Linked DNA regions of Homo sapiens: all the other regions are linked to region 4. The links are contacts of gene promoters, found by promoter capture Hi-C in blood cells and fetal thymus (Javierre and others, 2016). All regions are on one chromosome and are shown on one strand. The core of a region is centred on a gene start or on the middle of the fragment in contact, and the rest is flanking DNA. Distances in the headings are between cores, read along the strand shown. Region 1 has its middle 5.6 kb from the start of SLC17A2. Region 2 has its middle 7.2 kb from the start of TRIM38. Region 3 has its middle 25 kb from the start of SLC17A3. Region 4 holds the start of SLC17A4 (solute carrier family 17 member 4).

Region 1 (2,700 bases), core at 5-2,504, 180 kb after region 4:
AGAATGAATCACATCTATAACATTTGACCTGAATACTTTCATATAATGTAATACATTTTTAAATGAGTAAAGCAGATACTAAGGACGTATAAAGGGACTCCATTTTTTTCTGAATATTAATCAAGAAAATTCTATATATCTGTATCTTTGTTTACATAAGATTGTGTGAGCCATAATAGCTGTTGACTTGGGTTATCAGGTTTGGGTAAACAGTTTAGTGGTAAAAAAAAGATGTGTAAGACTTGGCCGGGTGCAGTGGCTCACATCTGTAATCCCAGAACTTTGGGAATCTGAGGCAGGCAGATCACTTGAGGTCAGGAGTTCCAGACCAGCTTGGCCAACATGGTGAAACCTCGTCTCTATAAAAAAACTACAAAAATTAGCCAGGCATGGTGGCGCACACCTGTAGTACCAGCTACTCAGGAGGCTAAGGCAGGAGAACCGCTTGAACCCGGGAGGTCGAGGTTGCAGTGAGGTGAGATCGCGCTACTGCACTAAGCCTGGGCAATGACAACAAAACTCCGTCTCAAAAAAAAAAAAAAAAAGTGTAAGACTTAGCAAAAAGGTGACCAAAAAAAAGCAACATTTATAAACTATGGATGTAAAACTCTATGTATGTGTGAGTGTGTATACATGTGTGAATATACATAGGATACATTTTTGTCTGTATGTGTATATGTACATACATGCATGTATGTGTATGTGTGTGTATATATACAAGCTTTTTTAAAATGTTTTCAACAATATTGAATTACATTAGAAAAATGCTAGTACTGTAGTGTACAAAGCAGGATGCGTTGTGCACATCCACATACAGGAATAGAAACAGATATATACATACACACACACTACACACACCCCTATACCTACACCAAATATACATTGAGAGAGAGAGATAGAGAAAATAGTAACTAAGGTAGTTAATTCTGGCCACAAGGATTTTTAGATGAATCTGACTTTCTTCCTTAGGTTTTTTTTGTATTGTTTAAAGTTTCACACAAATAGCATTTATTTACTGTATAATCATAAAAGGCAAAAACCTATTTTGATTTTAGGAAAACACAAAGCATCCAAACCAAAAATCTCAACTTAGGAAATAGCGGGAAATCTAGGGAAGTCAACAGGACCAGGTCATGACGGTCTTTTATGCAATGTCCAGGAGCTTGAACTTTATCTTGTCGTTCCTATATTTCCTCAAAACAAATGTGTGTGGACGCAGAAATGGAAATGCACAGCAGTGCACTGAGGTCACAGGAAAAATACAAAACAGTTTTTCTGAAGTACTAACTTCACTCAAAACTTCGGGAAACATTTTAAAAATGGTTTTAAACAAATTTGACTAAATTTGACAAATTTAGTCAAATGCAAAATTTTCATTTTTAAAAGGAAATAAATTTTAGAGGAAAAAACAGATGTGAAAAAGAATACATGAAATAGTACATGAAGGAATACATGCACGTGGCATACACTTGAATCCATGTATATGCCAGGTTTTCTTGTGTTGCACACAAGACCAACTCTGAAGTTAAAGATAACCCAGTAGAAAAAATTAAATGATGGGGAGTAATTAAAATGTTTTCAGCAGGAGTAGGACATGATTTTTATATTTAGACTGTTTAGTCGGCTAGTTATGTCTGACGGATAGAAGTGAGGACACTCCTAATTGAAAAGTAAGTGCTACTAAGAAACTCAACGTGGGGGTCATAGAATGAAGCCAGACTTTTGTTCCCAAGCAGGAGACAGATGCAGATAAGAGGGAATGAAGATGAAGTAAGGGCTGAACCACAGAAGCTTCGCATCATAAGTCATTGTATTTCTCTGAGTGAACATCATAGAACTTATTTACTATCTGGTCACAAAATGCCACTGACATGAAAAGAAATCGGGTTGAAATGGCTCTAGACCAAGATTCCCAAGACATCAAGAAATCACCAAAAGTTGCCTCAGGTTCACAAAAAAAGATATTCCAAGGGAGTTCTCCAAGTAAGTAAACACTCATTATTTCTATAAGGCTTAGGCCACAAGACCTTGGCTGAGACCCCTGTCTCTGTGATCTGGTCTGTACCACATTGGAAGGGCCATGACTGATTTCTACCTAGACATTTAAGGCTGAACGGAGGCTGAAGAACCTCTTGCTTGCTTTCCCATAGACTCACATCTGATAACAGCCCTCATCTTAGGCCCCAGAGGGCAAGAAGAGGTTAAGAAGGATCAACCAAAGGTAAAGTACACCAAGAAAAGAGCAGCTCTTTGGTTAGAATTTTAAGATAAAGAGAGACACATAAAAGCTACTGTTGAAAAATAACAGAAGGAACAACGTTTTATCTAATCAATAGATGGAACAAGACAATAGAGGACCATCTCAACAATAACCTAGAATACCATGGAAGACAGACATAAATCATCTGTATTTGTCCTGCTCAAGACTTGCCATATGCCAGGTATGGTGGCTTATACCTATAATCCCAGAACTTTTAGGCTAAGGCAGGAGAATTGCTTGAGCGCAGGAGTTCCAGACCAGCTTGTCTCTACAAAGTTCTCTGGGGGTTTTTTTTCGTTTGTTTGTTTTTTAGGCAGGTGTGATGGCACACACTTGTGGTCCCAGCTACTCAGGATGCTGAGGTGGGAGAACAGATTGATTCTGGGAGGTCAAGGCTGCAGTGAGCTATGATTGCTCCACTGCACTCCACCCTGGGTGAC
Region 2 (2,700 bases), core at 43-2,542, 200 kb after region 4:
ACCTCTAACCCAATCCTATCCTTTACCCGGGGACTCCACCACTTACCCAAAGTCAGCCAGTTGGTGCTGTAGTCTGTTTCCTTTGGCTTCAGAGTCTCCTCAGTATTGTCCCTTCGTGGTCACCAGAAAGATGTTACCAGAAAGGGGTCTTGATCCAGACCCCAAGAGAGGGTTCTTGGATCTCACACAAGAAAGAATTTAGGGCAAGTCCATACAGTAAAGTGAAAGCAGGTTTATTAAGAAAGTAAGGAAATAAAAGAATGGCTACTCTGTAGGCAGAACAGCAGCGTGGTCTGCTCAAATAAGCATACTTATAGTTATTTCTGGATTATGTGCTAAACAAGGGGTGGATTATTCATGAGCATTCCAAAAAAGGGGTGGACAATTCCCAAAATTGAGGGTTCCTCCACCTTTTAGACCATATAAGGTAAAGTCCAGATATTGCCGCAGTATTTGTAAGCTGTCATGATGCTGGTAGGAGTGTCTTTTAGCATGTTAATACATTATAATTAACATATAATGAGCAGTGAAGACAACCAGAGGTCCCTTTGGTGGCCATGTTGGTTTTGATGGGTTTTGGCCAACTTCTTTACCACAACCTATTTTATCAGCAAGGTCTTTGTGATGTGTACCTTGTGCTGACTTCCTATCTCATCCTGTGACTAAGAATGCCTAACATACTGGAAATGCAGCCTAGCAGGTGTCAGCCTTATTTTATCCAGCGCCTATTCAAGATAGAGTCATTCTGGTTCAAATGCCTCTGACAATGCAGCCTTGAATTCCTGGGCTGAAGCCATCTTCCCACTTCAGCCTCCTGAGTAGCAGGGACTACAGGCACACACCATCATGCCTGGCTAATTTTTTTGTATTTTTTTTTTTAGAGATGGGGTCTCACTGTGTTGCCCAGGCTGGTCTTGAGCTCCTAGGCTAAAGCAATCCTCCTGTGTCATCCTCCCAAAGTGTTGGGCTTGTCAGAGGTATTTGAACAAGAAAGACTCCATCTTGAATAGGAGCTGGGTGAAATAAGGCTGAGTCCTGCTGGGCTGCATTCCCTGTAAGTTAGGCATTGTAAGCCACAGGATGAGGCAGGCAGTGGGCACAAAATACAGGTCATAAAGACCTTGCTGATAAAACAGGTTGCAGTAAAGAAGCCGGCTAGGCCAGGTGGGGTGGCTCACACCTATAAGCCCAGCACTTTGGGAGGCTAAGGTGGCTGGATGGCTTGAGCGCAGGAGTTGGAGATCAGCGTAGGCAACATGGCGAAACCCGGTCTCTATTAAAAATATAAAAAATTAGCTGGGTGTGGTGGCACATGCCTGTAATCCCAGCTACTTGGGAGGCTGAGGCACGAGAATCGCTTGAACTCAGAAATTGGAGGTTTCAGTGAGCTGAGATCGTGCCACTGCACTCCAGCCTGGGCAAAAAAAAAAAAGAAAAAAGTAAAGAAGCTGGCTAAACCCCACCAAATCCAAGATGGCGATGAGAGTGACCTCTGGTCATCCTCACTGCTCCCCACCAAATCCAAGATGGCGATGAGAGTGACCTCTGGTCGTCCTCACTGCTATGCTCATACCAGCGCCACGACAGTTTACGAATGCCATGGCAACGTCAGGAAGTTACTTTATATGGTCTAAAAAATGGAGGCATGAATTATCCACCCCTTGTTTAGCACATAATCAAGAAATAACCATAAAAATGAGCGACCAGCAGCCCTCAGAGCTGCTCTGCCTATGGAGTAGCCGTTCTTTTATTCCTCTACTTTCTTAATAAACTTGCTTTCACTTTACAGACTCGCCCGAATTCTTTCTTGTGTGAGATCCAAGAACCCTCTCTTGGGGTCTGGATCTGGACGGACCCCTTTCCGGTAACAGGATTACAGGTGTGAGTGAGCCACCATCCCCAGCCTTAGTAAATTTTTATTTCAGTTATTATATATTTTTATTTATTTTCTGTTTTTCAGTTATTATATTTGAAACTCCAGAATTTTTATTTAGAATGTATTAACAAATCAGGAGTACTGGCATAAGCCTGGCACAAAGCAAATGTTGACATAGGTCTGGCACAAAACAAGTGTTCAATGCATTTTAGCTACCTTTAAGTGTATTATTACTAGCTGCTTCTGGGGCTATCCGGGGAAAATTATCCTTGCAAAACCCCCACTCACTTCCAGAGCAGGCTTCAGTGAAGCAGTCATCTGTGTCATGACAAGAGCCAAACTCTGTAAAACATTTGAAGAGATTTATTCTGAGCCAAATTTGAGTGACCATGGCCCATGACACAGCCCTCAGGAGGTCCTGAGAACAAGCGCTCAAGGTGGTTGGGATGCACCTTGGCTTTATACATTTTAGGGAGGCATGGGACATCAATCAAATACGTTTAAGAAATGTACACTGGTTTGGTCCAGAGAGGCGGGACAACTGGAAGCAGCGGAGGAGTGGGGTGGAGGTGATGACAATTGGTTGAGTTTGTATAAAGATTTGGGATTAATAGAAAGGAGCACTAGGTTGTGATAACAGGTTGTGAAGACCAAAGTTGTACTATGGGATGAAGTTTTTAGCTAGCAGGCTTCAGAGAGAATAGGTTGTAAAATGTTTCTTATCAGACTTAAAAGCTGTGTTGATGTTAATGCCAGAGAGGAATAATGAGGCATGTTCAACCCCCACTTCCCTTAATGGCCTGAGCCAGTCTTTCAGGTTACAT
Region 3 (2,737 bases), core at 153-2,652, 140 kb after region 4:
TATAAAAATCTGATTGAATGGTTGAATGCTGTGCTAAAATCTGCATAATATCTTACAACACTTCTGTGAATCACGAGACAGTTTTGAATGCTAAATGTCAGTTAACAGATCTAAAGGGACCAACATCTGCTTTCCCAAATTATATGAAAGAAGATCCTGATCCCTCATCAGGTGAAACTCACATCAGACAACAGTGTCTGCATTTCTCCAAAACCCGCCTCAGCCCCATGGCCACTTTCCAGGGTTATCCTGCCTACCAAGCACTCTCTTTCCTCAGAAAAACTTGGGGGAAAATGTAGAATAATAATTTTTTGAAGTTCTGACCAACTTCTTGAATCACTCAGCATGTTTTTGACTGCAGGTACAGAAAACGCTGACTCAACAAATTTAAACACTATATAAATTTCTTATCTCCCCAAACAGGACATCAAAGGCAGAAAGGTTCCAGAGCAGGGTGATCAGAGCTCTGGCTCCACTGCCCTCAGTCTTCTTGCCTCTGCTCTCCTTCACAGCAGGCTTTACCCCCCATGCTGGTCACAGTTTCAAGTGTCCATGCAGACACAAGTTAAAGGCAGGAAGAAACAGTGCGTTTCTCTTGGAGATCAAGGAATGCCTTTCCAGAAAACTCCCCCTTATGTCTCATTTGCCAAAACTTGGCCTAGTCTCAGGTGCTGCCTGAGCTAATCAGCTACAGAAGAAGGGACCACATGACTGGTGTGGACCAGTCAGAATTCACCACATGAAGCTAGTAATGTGGCTCACACTTCCCAGGGGGATATGGCCAGGTAGCAGACAGTGGATCGCTGAACAGAATACTGATAGATTTCAGCACCAAGGTTAGAATGGCTACCACACCTAATCCCACCCTATCCCCGTTTCCTTCTTTAATTTTTTCCATAGCACTTATCAGTAGCTGACAAACTGTATATGTTTTTACTTTTTTATTGTCTGTAGCTCCCAAGTAGAATACAAACATCTGAAACTCACTGTATCCATCCTGAGTAATGTTCTTTTCAGCTCAGTCACAATCATTTTTTGATAGCCTATCCTATAAGCTTAACTTATAGTGTTAATCAGTATTAATACATCTTAGTGGGAAAGAAGGAAAAAATAAACGATCACACACACACACACACACACACACACACATACATTTACGTAACAGAGCAAGTGTGAAAATACCTAAAGGCTTTATAGCTCCTTTTGTCAATGGATACATGACAGCATTTTTGGCATTCTTTACTACTCTTATTCTATGCTCCATTTGTCTTCAGTCAGCACCTCAGCTGCCCTTATGTTTTACTTGGTAAGGCAAATTCCTAAATGAGCCTGGTAATTAGTCATCCAGCTTATAGGAAGGTACTATAGTTTTTCATTAACTTTTTCACTGGGCTTGAGAGTAGTAAGGACTCCCAGAGAATTCCTTGTGTTCCAAAAGTACTTCTCCTTGACATCTTGGTATAGGATTAATAACTGTTTACCTTTGATAATCAGGAAGAATGACTCCAGCTAGTACAGTTACGTGATGCCTATACATTCCTTTTTTTCTGGGAAAAATGTAATGTGAAATTAAGTGCAAAAACCATGCCTTGTTTATGTATGTATCAAACACTTCTAGAGCTTTCCCAATACAGTTCTCTTCTCAGCAAACAAGAGGACTATACCCTCATCCCCACCCCTGCACTTAGGTGTAGCCAATGTGTTGTAACTTAAAGAGGAGAGGGCACTGGATGAAGGGAAATCTGTCTAACAAGCTTCTTTATTTCACCTAGTGGAAAAAAGCCTTAATCTGCAGTGGGGCAGTTTTCAAGGACATAGACTGAATTGGCTCATGCATTTATGGAAGATGAGGAGTCCCATGATCTGTAATCTGCAAGCTGGAGACCCAGGAAAGCTGGTGGTATGATTCAGTCTGAATCTGAAGGCCTGAGAACCAGAGGAACTGATGATGTAAATCCCAGTTCAAGAGCAGGAGACCAGATGAGATGTCCCAGCTCAAGCAGTGAGGCAGAAAAAAAGGCCCAAATTCCCCCTTCCTCTGCCTTTTCTTCTATTCAGACCCTGAATATCAGGTGGCATAATGCCATCCACACTGGGAAAGACAGTTTACTTTACTAGGATCACCTATTCAAAGGCTAATCTCATCCAGAAACACGCTCACAAACACAGCCAGAAATAATGTTTAACCAGATAGCTGGTTATCCCCTGACTCAGTCAAGTTGACACAAAAAATGAACTATTTCAAAGCTTACTGTAATCAACAGTTTTGTCAAAAAGATAGACACAAATCAGTGGAATGAGATAAACAGTCTAGAAATAAACCAACAAAAATATTGCCAACTAAGGCAAAGGTAATCAATGGAAAAAAGATAGTCTTAGCAACAAATAGTACTGGAACACCACAATGTGTTAATAAAGTGAAACTGGAGACATCTCTCACACCTTATACAAAAGTAACTAAAAATAAATCAAAGGACTAGATGTAATGTATCAAACATTACATCTTTTAGAATGTATCAAACATTACAAGCTTTTAGAATAAAATATAGAAGAAAATTTACATGATCTAAGATTTGGCCCCAATGAAGTTTTAGCTATAATAACAAAAGTATTAGTCATGGAAGAAAACAAAATTGATAAGTTCAGGTGGGCTAAATTAAGGGAAAAAAATCACTTTGCAGTAGAGAAACCTGAAACATTACCTAAACCACATGATGAAGGTTAATATCAGTGATGT
Region 4 (2,700 bases), core at 78-2,577:
CAGTAAGTAACATGATCATATGTACATTTCCAACATTCTGCCTGCTATGTGGGGTGGATTAAAAGAGAGAGAATGGAAACAGTGGGGCCCGGTAAATAATCATTTTATTTACCCTGGTGATAGATGATTGTGATAGGAATGGAGAAAATAAAAAATAATGGAAAGAGATGAAGGTGGAACTGATAGAACATACTGTTGGAATTAATGTTGATGGAAAGTATAGAATGAAGGCTGACTTTTTTTTGGCAAGATTAACAGGGAAATGGTAATGCCATTAACCAAGATGGGGGATCCTGGGCCAGGAGTAGGGTTGGAGGGAGATTCAGTTCTGCTTGCAGTCATAAGACTGAGATACCTAATGGGTACTCAAGGAGAGATGGATGAAGTTGAAGTCGAAGCTCAGAGAAGAGGTCAGAATTGGGTGTGAAAGGAAAGGGGACTGGCTGAGATCTCCTTGGGAGTGAGTTTAGATAGGGAGGAAGTTCAAGGACAGAGTCTTAGGCATATCAACATTAGAAACCAGAGAAAAGATAAGGATTCAGCAAAACGTATTGACAAGGAACAACCAATGAGACACGAGGAAAATCAGATCTGAATGAATTAAATGAAACAAGGCATCAAGAAGGAACGAGTGGTGGAATCTGTCAAGCACTGACAGATGGGGCCTGGGATGTGACCACTGGATTTGCTGGCAGAGAGGCTGGTGATGGCTTTGCTAAGGGCTGTCTTGTTGCTGATGGATTCATGAGAAAACTAGAGGTGGGGAACCAGAATGCAAATATGTATGAGTCTTCTGAAATGTTTTGCCATAAAAGGGAGGAGAATCACAGAGTTAATTTTCATGGAAAACTCAATGGCCTTTGTGCAAAAAATTACAATCAGAAAACCATAAAAATCACTCAAGTCGACCAAAATGTATTAAGTCTCTCCTCTTTGGAAAGCTCAGTTCTATTAAACAGCAGGATGGTGGAAAAGGGACTCAAAAGGGGCAAAATATACCCCATCTCCATGAAGATTATAATAACTCTGAGAGACCCCAGAAGGGGATAGTGCTGTCAGTGAAACATGTGGGGTGTCAGGATCCTTATAAGAAGGGACATTGATTCTGATTAAGGATGAGGGAAGACATAGGTGACCTCAGCTGGGCTTGAAGCATGAGGAAGATTTAATGAGCTTGATTTGATTATCAATCAAACAATAAAATGTAAAGTTAAAAATTAAACCACTGGGCCAATAAAATTCTCCAAGCTGGTAACATAAGGGCTAAAGGTTTTGGGTAATTATTTACCTCCCAGAATTAGACAATTGCAAAGAGCTTAGAATATTTATTTGAAAGGAATGAGGATCCTGCACTCTTCCTCCCTCAGGTTAGTTAGCTTTCAAACTTTTACCCTTAATATTCTGCTTTTGAGATGATGGGAATGGGTCTGTTTCTGTTAGAGAGCAGCTTAATTTGCTGTTTAGGGGCAGAGATTGTGGGAGTGGAGAAGAGAATGCCTGTGTCCTGAGATAATTCTGGTAAGTGAGAAGGGATGTTGCATTAAGAGCCCTGGAACTACAGGGAATTAATTCAAGAGAATGAAATTTTCTAAAAGTATAGCTGAACAGAGACAGACAGACAGACACACACACATACACACACACACACACACACACACACACACACACAGAGGAAGAAAGAGAGAGAGGAAGAGACAGAAACTAAATGATATATTTGGATTGTTTTTGTGAAGTACATTAATTTTTTTAAGCATTGATCAAATCCACAGTGAGACAATAAATGCCAATACTGAATTCTCAGAGAGGAAGATTTTCATCATGCCTAAAAAATTAATGAAAACCAAACGGTTCTGGTTTGGTTCCAGCGAATTTATGGGAAAGCAAAATAAATGAAATCTAATATGGCTTTGGGAAGTAGTTAATGATGAAGAGTTTAGGGCAGAGGACTTTATTTGCAAACTGTGAATAAGAGCCATGGGCTGTTTCTCATAAGGAGGAAAAATGTTCAGTGCTGAGACCACCTAAGATGACATTTGAGCTGTTAATAGCTCTGCCCAGCACCTTAAGGAAAAGTCTCATTCTACAGTGGACTGATAACTAGCAGAGGAACAGGGTGCATATGAATCCAAAAAGAACAGACACAAGCAGTCTTGGCAAGAAAAACTGATGAGAAATTGATATAAGAATGGCTGGCTCCATTTCTTTGCTGTTTTTTCCTCATTTACCTGGTTTCAAAATAAATAGATAAGGCTGATGACTCACACATTTATATTTCTACAAAGGCCCTTCTGTTCTTAGCTATGGACTCACAGACACAAAACTTACCTGTCAATCTTCCCTTCTGGGTCTAACAGGAGTCTCAACCCCAAGTGTCCAAAATAAAGTTCTTGCTTTTCCTCTGGAACCTGTTGCCCTCCCTGCTCATTTCGCCAACTTCTTTGAGTGCAACACTATTCACTCATTTGCTCAAGCCGTAAGTCTAGAAGTCTCTGATGATTCTTCCCTTTCTCTCATTCCCATATACACCTCATTAGCAAGTCTTAGTGGCATATCTCCAAAACAGGTCCTGAATGTGGTCTTTTTCACCACAACTAGCCTAGCCCATCCACCATCAACACTTGTACAGGTGAAGAAACAACTTCTTGTTCAGTCTCTTGGTTCTCAATCTTGTCCTTTACAGCCCATGTGCCACACAGTGGC

The links. Contacts are between HindIII fragments. The CHiCAGO score rates a contact against its expected background, and 5 or more counts as called.
Region 1: a fragment that was not itself captured here is called in contact with the fragment with the promoter of SLC17A4 in region 4 in 1 of 17 cell types (naive CD8 T cells); the score reaches 5.1 in naive CD8 T cells.
Region 2: a fragment that was not itself captured here is called in contact with the fragment with the promoter of SLC17A4 in region 4 in 2 of 17 cell types (naive B cells and total B cells); the score reaches 5.4 in naive B cells.
Region 3: a contact is called between a fragment that was not itself captured here and the fragment with the promoter of SLC17A4 in region 4, in 3 of 17 cell types (total CD8 T cells, naive CD8 T cells and M1 macrophages). The highest score is 7.2, in total CD8 T cells.

The regions. Positions count from the first base shown.
Region 1 is chr6:25,934,921-25,937,620 of GRCh38, forward strand. No RefSeq gene overlaps it. Among named protein-coding and RNA genes, the nearest start is that of SLC17A2, 5.6 kb to the left of the region's middle. The HindIII fragment of the contact is 1,070 bases long and covers 720-1,789 here.
Region 2 is chr6:25,954,246-25,956,945 of GRCh38, forward strand. No RefSeq gene overlaps it. Among named protein-coding and RNA genes, the nearest start is that of TRIM38, 7.2 kb to the right of the region's middle. The HindIII fragment of the contact is 3,225 bases long and covers 1-2,700 here.
Region 3 is chr6:25,898,083-25,900,819 of GRCh38, forward strand. No RefSeq gene overlaps it. Among named protein-coding and RNA genes, the nearest start is that of SLC17A3, 25 kb to the left of the region's middle. RefSeq lists an enhancer at 34-623. The HindIII fragment of the contact is 699 bases long and covers 1,054-1,752 here.
Region 4 is chr6:25,753,415-25,756,114 of GRCh38, forward strand. It overlaps SLC17A4 (solute carrier family 17 member 4), which reads left to right and starts at 1,328. Exons shown (of 12, transcript NM_005495.3): 1 at 1,328-1,367. It also overlaps a transcript of SLC17A1 not described here. The HindIII fragment of the contact is 7,086 bases long and covers 1-2,700 here.